Regions from separate parts of the Homo sapiens genome. Here region 1 is linked to region 2. Evidence: promoter capture Hi-C in human tissues and cell types (Jung and others, 2019). All regions are on one chromosome and are shown on one strand. The core of a region is centred on a gene start or on the middle of the fragment in contact, and the rest is flanking DNA. Distances in the headings are between cores, read along the strand shown.

What was found. The method cuts DNA at HindIII sites, captures the fragments that hold promoters and counts their contacts. A contact is called where the count stands out against the background at its distance.
Region 1: a contact is called between a fragment that was not itself captured here and the fragment with the promoter of FGF20 in region 2, in 2 of the 25 tissues and cell types used here (pancreas and stomach).

What each region holds. Positions count from the first base shown.
Region 1 is chr8:16,959,377-16,964,896 of GRCh38, forward strand. No RefSeq gene overlaps it. Among named protein-coding and RNA genes, the nearest start is that of FGF20, 40 kb to the right of the region's middle. The HindIII fragment of the contact is 6,259 bases long and covers 241-5,520 here.
Region 2 is chr8:17,001,095-17,006,862 of GRCh38, forward strand. FGF20 (fibroblast growth factor 20) reads right to left here and starts at 1,251. Exons shown (of 3, transcript NM_019851.3): 1 at 653-1,251. The coding sequence starts at 938. RefSeq lists a silencer at 768-837. The HindIII fragment of the contact is 12,794 bases long and covers 1-5,768 here.

The DNA of each region.
Region 1 (5,520 bases), core at 2,120-4,619, 40 kb before region 2:
AAACAGGCAAGAATAGATGAGCACAGGGGCAAAACATCCCTTTAATAGATGTAATAGTAAGTATATTTTATTTTGTAGGGAATGAGTGATTCTGATGGGTTGAGTAAGTCACCAATGGCTTCTCCCATTTACCTGATTATCACCTTGGGTATTTAATTTCTCTAAGTCTTAAATACCTCGTTTGAAAAATAAGAGTAATGTTGCTTCACAAAGTTGTTGGGGGTTTGGCTGAAATATTGTATACATAGAGCACATTATACCATGTCTGGCATATAGCAAGAAAGCAATAAATTATAATAATTATAATTCTTTTCATGTTAGATAGTGAAAGATTTTTCAGGGTAGAGTAATTGCTTATAAGCAGTACTGAAGTTTTGAAATTATACCCCCAAATTAAAGCTGTTTTGTTAAATGCAATAATATTTTATTGGAATATGGGTATTATCGTATGTTAAGACTGGGAGGAAGATATTGGCAAGATTGTGTAAAATGCTCATGGATATACCAATCATATGGCAAGATGAATGACACTACTATGATTGATGTGGACAATAGCAATTCGCTCCCTACAATTTGGAAGGTGCACAAGCTTCTTTAAGGAATCTGAGCACTCCGATACCACTGAAAGAACAGGGGTTCCATTAGTATTGGGGAAATAGCCACGGGTAAAAAAAAATAGTATTCACCCCACTTGTCTTACATCTTTTCTCCTGCTGCTCATCTTGCTTTCACTCTTCCACTCACTTCAAAATAACATCTGTCCCTCTTGTTCTTGAAGTCCGCCATTGACTCCCACGTAGCCAAATGCGATTAATAGTTTTTTAGCTCTCATCTTCTTTGACCTTCCAGTAGCATACAACACAGTTGATTACTCACTCCTAGAAATACTCTTTTGATCTGTGTGATGCAAAACTTTCCTGATTTTCTTCTTATCTAGCATCTCCTTCCCTCTCTTTAAATTATCTTTCTCTTCCATCTGACCTCATGTAACTCAGAACTTTCATTTTTTTCTCCCTAGCATCTATATGCCAATAATTCCAAAATTATATCTCTAGCCTACATTTCCAGACCCATATATATCCAATTCCTTACTTGACCTAGTCACTTGATCATCTCACTCATATCAAAAAATGAACATTTCAAAACTGAACTTGTTATTTTCTACACAATTTTTATCCTCCAGTCTCATATTATTTTAATAAATGAGACTCCCTCTCTCTCTCTCTGTCTCTCTCTGTCTCACACACACACACAAACACACACACACACACACACACACACACATCTATTTACTCGAGCCAAAAATCTGGGCATAGCTTGATACAGCTCTCTCTTATCCCTACCTTTAATGTATCACTAAGATCCACTAATTTTACCGTCAAAATACCCCAAGTCCACCCATTACTCTCCCTTCTCATAGCCAACATGCCAGTCCAAACTGTTGCAACTCTTTCACCTAGGCTAACGCAATTTTCTCCAAACAATTTCTATTTTCTTCCACTTTTACCTCAGTCTAACCCAATGTTTATTTTGCAGCCAATGTGTTTTTTGGGGTTTTGTTGTTGTTATTGTTTTTGTTTTTGTTGTTTGAGATACAGTCTGGCTCTTTTGCCCAGGCTGAAATACAGTGGCGTGATCTCCGCTCACTGCAACCCAGAACTTCTGAGTTCAATGAGTTCTCCTGCCTCAGCCTCCCAAGTAGCTGAGACTACAGGCATGCACCACCATGCCCAGCTAACTTTTGTATTTTTTTTTATAGGGATGGAGTTTCACCATGTTGCCCAGGCTGGTTTTGAACTCCTGGGCTCAAGCGATCCTCCTACCTCAGCCTCCCAAAGTGCTGGGTTTACAGGGATGAGCCACAGATCCTGCACCAATGTGGTCTTTTAAATGTATAGATGAAATGGTGTCACTCTCCTGCTTAAAATCCTTCTATGACTTTCCATTGCACTAAAAAGAGACTCAAATAACTCACTGTGGCCCATAGGGGTTGTCATGATATGGCCCGTCCATGTCAATCTCTTCAATTTCATCTCATGCTATGCTGGCCCCACTACCTATTTAGCCATCTGGCCTTCTTTTAGTTTTTGGAACATGTCACACTGTTTTCCAACTGCAAGATCTTTATCATCCTATCGTCTAGATCGCTGTCTATACACACCCTGCCTCCCACATCCAAACTGCACAAACTCTGTTTTCAACTCCTATTCATTCTTCAGAAAGATCTTTTCTTTCCTTTTCTGATTGTCTCAACTAAAGGAGACGCCTCTGTGATCTTTCTTTTCTTTTTTTTTTTTTTTTTTTTTTTTGAGATGGAGTTTTGCTCTTGTTGCCCAGGGTGGAGTGCAATGGCACAATCTTGGCTCGCTGCAACATCTGCCTCCCAGGTTCAAGTGATTCTCCTACCTCAGTCTCCACAGTAGCTGGGATTACAGGCATGCGCCACCACACCTGGCTAATTTTTTGTATTTTAATAGAGATGGGGTTTCTCCATGTTGGTTAGGCTGGTCTCGAACTCCTGACCTCAGGTGATCTGCCCTCCTCGGCCTCCCAAAGTTCTTCTATTAGAGGTGTGAGCCACCTCGCTCAGCTGATCTTTCTTACAGTCTTGTTCTTTTCCTTCATAGCACTGACCACAAACTGCAATTTTAAAATTTATTTTAATTTTACAAATAAATTACAAATGTGTAATTATTAAAATCTTTTCCAGGCCAGTGCTGGTGGCCCATGTATGTAATCCCAGAACTTCGGGAAGCCAAGGCAAGAGGATCACTTAAAGCAACCCACAACCCACGGGCTGCATGCATCCCGGGACGGCTTTGAATAAAGCCCAGGACAGCTTTGAATGCGGCCCAACACAAATTCATAAACTTTCTTAAAACATTATGAGATTTTTTTGCGATTTTCTTTTTTTAGCTCACCAGCTATCATTCGTTTGTTCTATGTGTGGCCCAAGACAATTCTTCTTCCAATGTGGCCCAGGGAAGCCAAAAGATTGGACACCCTGGCTTAAAGCCAGGACTTCAAGACCAGCCTAGGCAACAAAACAGAGACCCCATTTCAACAAATCACTTTTAAAATTTAGCTTGGTGGTGTGTACCTGTAGTACCAGCTATTACCTACTCAGGAGGCTGAGGTGGAAGGATTGCTTGAGTCCAGGAGATCAAGCCTGCAGTAAGCCATGATCTTGCCATTGCTCTCCAGCTTGAGTGAAAGCATGAGACTACCTCTTAAAAAAAATATATATGTTTTTGCTACCTGGTTAAAACCAGGTGTAATTTAGAGTATATGTTAATTTAATTACCTACATGTATTTATTCTTTACTAGATGCTTGAAACCCATCTCCCTTTGGTGTTATCACTGTAAGCACACATACACATATACATACACATACACATGTACACATACACAAACACATGTACACATACACAGAAACACACGAGGATGCAGAAGTCTCCCTATAATTTAGCGAACTCGTGAAATTATAAAATTTCGTATACATCACCATGGTATCATAACTGCCACTTTAATCCAACAACATTCAGTCCTTGCTAAAAGTTATTTCATTCTTACAAAGAAATAGATCTAAGAAAAGAAATATAAATTCAGTTACATTCAGTTTCAAGTTTCACTGTCAACGGTGAATCAGAAATCTTTAATATGACTAAATCTGGTATATTTGAATAAGTATATGCCAATAAAATACCTATAGGTCTTTATGGACCTCTGTCTTGTTCTTGATTTTAATTTATTAGAATGTATCAATTGACCTACATCAATTATTTTATGGGAAATATTATCAGTAAGATTTTTATCTTTAACATCCCAAATAGGAAATCCCCACTAGTGTAATAAATAATGTATTTGGCAGGGAATTGGCAAGCCATCTCAATCAGAAAACTTCCTGGCTGACAATCACACAAAATTGAGACCACAAAGCATATCTTAAATGTTTCAGCACTTGGATTTTCCTAAATACTTCTTTTAAGTTCTTTCTGAACAAGTTGCACAGAGATCAAAACATGCTAATTTCATCATTGCTAGCCAAAATCATAAAAGAACCGTATAAAAGCATATGGATACACTTACTAACTTATAAACAAAAAACTGTTTCATGGTTTTATTGAACAGTCCATAAAAGATTTTCCTCATTTGTAAAATGAAGAGATTGAACGAGATGATAGCTAAGATGTCCTCAAGCTCGAAAAATTCTAATATTTGTGATTTTAGAATAAATACTTCATATTTTTCTTTTCTAACAAGGAAAAGTAACAGTATATGTTATTCCCATGTTTTACCATTTTGGTGTAGTAGGAGACCTGGGGTCATTTTTGCCTCTCTGAGGAGTGGAAATACAAAAGGGTAACTCATTACCCCTTCTTAGCTTAAAAAGGAAGCCAGTTTGAAGGACTTTTACTATCCCTCTATGCTATTCTTCTGTATTTCCCTCTCAACTCCAATTTTAGTAAACATATATACACATACTCTAACACCAGCCCTACCACCACCACCAGGATTCCCATTATGGACATAAGCAACTCGTCTATTAAGGACAGCAGATAGTATCCTCCAGAAACTACAGAGTAAACACAGCCCTCCCCAGAATCCATATCAGGTGTCTCACCTGACAGCTCAGCTAAAGCTTCTGTCCTGTGAAGTCACTTTGCTCAGATCCTTATTCACAGCTCTTGGAAATGGTGCTAAAAGAGTAACAGAGTTAAAATAAAATCAAGCCAAAGACATTTCAGGACTGTTTGTAAGGATCAAGCTGTGCCCTACCGCTTGAGCCATGAGATCCTCTTATATTAGAGATATCAGTGGTTGGGAAAGATATCATGTGGAATTTATGGGAAGTCCCAGTGGGAAAATCACATCACAGGCTCCTGGGATACTAGAGCAAGGTCACATAGCTTGCAATGGAGAATGTACACCTTTTGAAATGCAACTCATGGCGTGTTACTGAGCCATCACACAAATTGAGAGCCAGACTATGGGACACCATGTGACCATGTGGCTAGAATTTTCCATGTTGACCTTAATGCTATCATATCCACCAGCTCAGCTAGGCTCAGCCTGCATGTCATGCACCACTGTTGCGCCAACACCTCTTCCTCATCTCACTCCTATGGCCCAGCAGGGGAATCCCTGAGGACTAGCTGACAGATGATCAAAGTGCCCAAGACTGGTTTACAGACAGGTCAGCTCAGTATGTGGATATAAGGCACTACAGTCTAACTCACAGACAATTATTTCAATTGACAAAGTTTGGGGCAGTACATTTGCCATCCCCTTTGGGTAATAAAAGAAGTAGTCTGAGATTAGAACATATAAGGACTCCTGGGCAGTGGCAAATGGAATGGCTAGCTGGTAAAATCCTAGAAAAAAAGAAAGATTGGAAGATCGAAGACAAAATGGTCTGGCAGAAAGGAATACAGTCGGCCCTCTGTATCTGAGGGTTCTACATCTGTGGATTCAAACAACCTTGGATCAAAAATGTTGAGGGGGAAAAAAATGCCACA
Region 2 (5,768 bases), core at 1-2,500:
GAGGGAACCTCAGACAGGTGAGCCCTACAGGTAGCGAATGTGCCCACGGAAAGTTAATCTGCTACCTCTTCAGGTGAACATTTGCAAGTCTCTAGGTAGACACGTAAATGCTCGCAATCCATGCCCAGAGCAGCCCCGGGTGCATAATCAGCTGCATAACTGTGGGGCATGTTTAAAGAAGCCCGGCGCTTCCTGTTATTAATTTTTGTAAAGTGGACGGCATGGGGGAAAATGAGAAAGGAAATCGGAGAGAAACATACAGGGATTTTTTTTAAAACTGACTGCGAGGTAAGCAGTGCGAGAACCGTGATGCCGAGTGCACCAGGTCTTGGTGTCCCCGGCAGTGGGAAGGGCAAGGGGAAGGCAGGAAGGAGCTTGCGAAGCGCCCACCCTTTCTCCTCCCGCCCCCAGCATCTGGAGCTGCTGCCCTGCTAGAGGCTGCGGCGACAAACCAGCAGGAAAATTTCTCCCCGCGGCTGCTCTGGCCAGCCCTTCAGCCCCAGCCTGCGTCTTGCACCGGATGGGTCCAGGGGAGCTCCGGGCTCCGCGCGGCGATGACGCCCTTGGCAGGCAAAGAGGGAGGTGCAAGGGGAGGGAACGAGGAGCCGAGCTGGGGCGCAGATGGGGGTGGGGTCGGGATGCTAGTACGTACCGAAGAGGCTGTGGTCCTGCCGGGTGCCCTGCACGCTGCCGTCGGGCAGGATCTGCAGGTGGAAGCCGGTGCGGCAATAGAGCTGCCGGCGGCGCAGGATGCCGTGCAGGTGCGCCAGCTGCGCAGCCCCCGGCCCGCCGCGCGCGCTCCGCTCCGCCGCGCTCCTGCGCTCGCCCAGCAGCGGCGGCCGCTCCCCGGCAGGAGGCAACAGGAAATGCGAACCCACCTGCTGGCCCAAGCCCTCCAGGCCGCCCAGAAAGCCCCCGACTTCGGCTAAGGGAGCCATGGAGGGGGAGATCCGGAACACAAAAGACCCCCCCAGTAAAGAGTGTTGTGGGGGTGGGATGGAGGTGGATAGAGAAAAATTATAGCAAAACGAGCGCAAAAAGTTAAGGCCCGGTTACTCCTCTGAGGTCGCTCCGGAGGGACTTTGCACTGAAATGGCAGGGAAGCTCTCACTGTCTTGGAGCGATCTTCTCTCCTTGGGTAGGTGGGAGCCGGCTGCTGGCTCTGCAGAAATATCTATAGCTGCCGCTGCCAATACTAGGACTAGGGCTGTTGGCTGGGGCTCCAATTCCGCAAACTGATCAGATCAGAGTCCTGTGTACATACACACCGAGTATATAAGCGGGTCCTCTTGACATATGCTAATCAAGTCCTTTCATGCGCGCTGGGGAGGTTCTGTTTGAAATCTTAAACCGGTCTCCTCTCAACACGTTTTTGCTCTTCGGAAGTGACCAAAAGGGGCCCTTGGCACTTCTCCATCCATGCCCTCACAAAAACCATTCCTGCACTTGGCCAAAGCCAGCCAGCAACTTCGAGGAGGTGCAGTCGAGGCCCCTCTTTGGGGTTGTCCTTGGGACAGCGGTGATGCTGTTCAGCTGCGGCCGTGCAACCGTCTTTGATGTGAGCTTTGCAGTGATAAATCGCCTCTAAAAGGAGCCCAACTTGGCAGGGATATAGAAGAAGAGGAAGGGAGGAGGGAGGGAAGGCGGGGAGGGAGAGAAAGAGAAGGAGGGCATTGGTAGGAGGAGGAAAGAGAAAAGGAGAATTGGACTCCTTGGGAGCCTGCAGTGGACAGGTGCAAAGAAAGGTAAGCAAGGGAGAAGGAAAAAGGGCGTTACCTGGGGCTTACAGACCTGCCCAGACACACATGAAAGAAAAATCAAAGCTTTGACAGTTTAACTCACTAATTTTAAAACACTAATAAAATGTACAAGCATTGCTCCTTTCTTTTATCATTTAGATGGGGGATTTTCTTTACATAATCAAGGTTAGGTAAGGAACACCCTCCCTCCCCCTCTTTACAATTTCTCTTTAATGTTTACCTTTACTCAGCACATAATATAACCAAAATTGCCATATATATATATACATAATACACATATGTATTTTTAATTGTGTGCTAAGGTCATGAACTTCTAATTAGTGTAAAATAAAGCAAAATATAATCACGAATCAAAGGATTTACAGTAAATCCAAATAGGCTGGAAAGAAATGATTTGCATCTCTATATTTTGCCGTGAATAGAAAATGAATATCTGGAATATTGTCATAAATGATGAGTGGCTTCTTGGGCCCTTATACAATCTAAGAGCACTTTCCTGTTTTTCTTAGTTGCGTTTTTCTAAAAGCTAGATGTTTTTGTTTACATTTTAATTATAAAATCTAAAAATAACTAAATGGAAATAGTCTTGAGGCTTGATGTGTTTTGAGACTTCAAAAGTTACTGGTAAAATTGAAGAGTGCTTGAGCATATTTGTAAAATCAAAAACCATGGAAGCCAAGGAATTAGATACATGTTCATTTAAACGTTGAAACTGGTTTTGCACCACTAGTTAAATTCAAGATCTTTCTGTTAAAATTTTTCAGTGGTAGAAGAATTGAGAATCATTGGGCAGATTTATGCTTCCTCTGAGCAAAAAGTTTTAGGGAACTGATGAAGATTACTTTCTCAGTCTTGTTTCATGATCTGTTTAAAAAAAGCATAAGCCTGGCAGCTCAGTTGGATTTGACTGGTTTATTTTATTTGCTCTGAAGGATTTTTTCTAATTAATTGGCAGGTGCTCTAAAGTGGGTATAGTTACACATTTTCATCACTACAGGCCTAACTACTGACCCTTGTGTAACCAAGTTATAAAAGAGTTCTTAAAGCAAGTGATTTACTGTTGATAGATATGAAATAAAACAAAAACGCTGGCTAAAAACAATAAACAGATAAATCACTTTAGAAACGTATATTGCTAAGTCTGTTTTAAAGGTTGCACCAGGTAAATGTTGTATTATTTCACCTTTCAAATAACAGCAGTCTGTCTTGTGGTAGGACCCCAAATCCACCATAATCAAGGTTTCAAACACATCTGTGTAAACATTATCACATCAGTGTAAAACATCAACCAATGAGCTTTTACTTTGAACCAAATCTTCTTAATTGCAGTGTTAAATCAAAGAAACTTAGATCAAAGTTGTGTGAATCTCGTAGCAGGATAACTGAAGTAGCCAGTACATCCACTGATCACTTTTAAAGAGGAGATACTTAAGGGTTTTAAACTTAGATCAAGTGCCTTTTAATGAGGTTTGTTTCAAGGTCCAAGTTCTGTGCAACATATAATGCTGTTAATTATTCCACAATGGAAATATATTATCATCACCTGCTTCTAAAAGTACTAGTTCAGTCTACAAACTATTTTCCCACATGAACACTTTAGTCCTGCTGTATGAGCTATAGCTGTTAGACTGTTCAAATCTGTTGTATTGCTTATATATATACAAAAAATGGGGAATTTCTTATTCATAGTCATGAAAGTTTAAATACTTTCATAATAGAATCGCCTTCTCTTTGTACACCTTGGTATTTACATGTGTATTACCTTATTTGATCACCACAATGACCATAAGACATAGGCACATCCTGCTTTATAGCGAAAAAATATGGTCCTAAATCCCCGTTTTGCCCAGAGTCCAACATCCCAGGCCAATTTCCTTAAATTCTCTAAATGCTTTTATTTTCTCTTTTGTAAAATAAGGATAATATAACTCCAGCCTAACTACTATGCCTAGAGTTGCCATGAGACTTAAATGTAAAAATATATTGGAAAATGGTTTTAAAACTATAGTTTTCTATGCATAGAATATGCTAGAAAACTCTAGTTGTTGTGAAAATTTTTGCTTTCTAACTTAACAAATATAATTGGTCTGAAATACAAAATAAATCTTTTTTTCCCAAACCAAACCTTTAATGTGTAAGTTTGAATGGTGCTTAATGCTGTTTTATAAAGGACCAGACTAGAAACAAAAAGATAAGAATTTCTTTTGTTTGCACTAGTCATGTGACAGGAAAAGATAACACTAAAGATTTTTTTTTTTTGCACATGCTGTGATGATATCATGGGAAGTTAAATAATTTTGAAGAGTGTTTTACAAGAGTGCATTATTCAACTTTTAAGTATACATTGCAATCTAATCAACTTTACCTATGCTTCCTAGAGACCACACTTGCCTTGCTGTTATACAAATACGTGGTACAACTTCTACTTCCACAAAATGTAGTTTGAGTTTTCCAGACTATATAATCCCTATATAGGTTTTCAGATGATATATTGTCAGGAACCTTTGTTTTTACACATGAGGAGTTCATACCTTTTGAGGCTGCTACATGTGTTCAATATGAGAAAAAGAAATAGAGCTGATTTAATGGTCATGATATACATCTCCAATAAAGTAAGAGTATATTTGCACATTATTCATTATTTATAATTACAAAATATTAGCAACAACATAAATTTCTATACACAGGAAACTGAATAAATTATGGTACATTCACACAATGGAGCATTATACAGCTGACAAAGATGTCTGTGAACGAACATGGAATATTTGCAGGATACACCGTTAAGTGAAAACAGCAAAGAATATATATAGTGTCTGCCTTTTCTGTAAGAAAGAAAAAAATGAGAAACGTCTACATGTATATGCTTATTTATTCTAAAAATAAACACAGAATGGATAAACCAAAAATTAATGAACTTGGTTACCTGGTTAGTTGGTTAGCAGGGGATGGATATGAATGGAGTGGAAGGGTTGGAGGAGTGACATTCATCTGAGAACTTTTTATAGAGTTTTGACTTTTGGAGAAATGTTAATGTTTTACATTTTTTTAAAGTAAAATAAAATAAAATAAATGAGAGAGAAGTGGGGATGGAATAAAAGCAGGAACAAATGAACCTAACTGTATTAAAGTGAGTAATATAACCACACATGAGGGATGAATAACATATTAAAAAAAAGAAAGAAAGAAACTCAAATAACTATCAAATTCTGTCTTTTGATGATATAACCAAGATCTAAAGAAAAACCACATAAACAAATCTTGAACTTCAATGAGAAAGATTGTTTTCCTCAGTAGCAGGGGTTAGAGTAGTGTATTGTAGAATTGAACAAATGAATAAATATATTGAAGCTAATGAGAGCTAGGGGTTTCATTATTAAAGAATAGAGTTCTAATATGAAAAGAAGGAAGACTGGAATGAACCTTGTAGTGTGAAATTGGAATTGCCGCTATCAGTATTAACACTTGGTGCCTGTGTGTGTGTGTATGTTCATGTGTATGTGCATATCTTAGCCCTGTGCACTAAAAGGGCCTAGAAGCAAACATATCCCAAGTCAATGAGCATATCTAGCATCTAAGCCTTGGTTTCTCAATTCAAACTCCTACTAAAATGATCAATGGAACCTTGGAGAAATGTCTGGTTCCAGGACTGGGGCATTATTTTGTGTGCCAGAAGGCAAGGAAGTACTAAAAAAAAAAAAAAAAAAAAAAAGAATAAGGACATGTCCAGGGGACATAAGCCAAATCTGGGACAATTTGAGCATCAAAATAAATAATGATAGGAACAAGTTATTTATGAAATAAATAAGAACATGTGAGTGCAACTGTTGAAGTACACAAACTACCAATCAAACAAGTTAATAAGGGAGAAGGGAAAACTTTTTCTCATGGCAGAATACCAACTAATAAATATTGAAAGAATGATGGAATTAGAAAAATGACCACTTTACATCCATCCTAGGGTCATTGCTGGTCCAGACAAAAACATAAATGCATCCTAAAACTTGT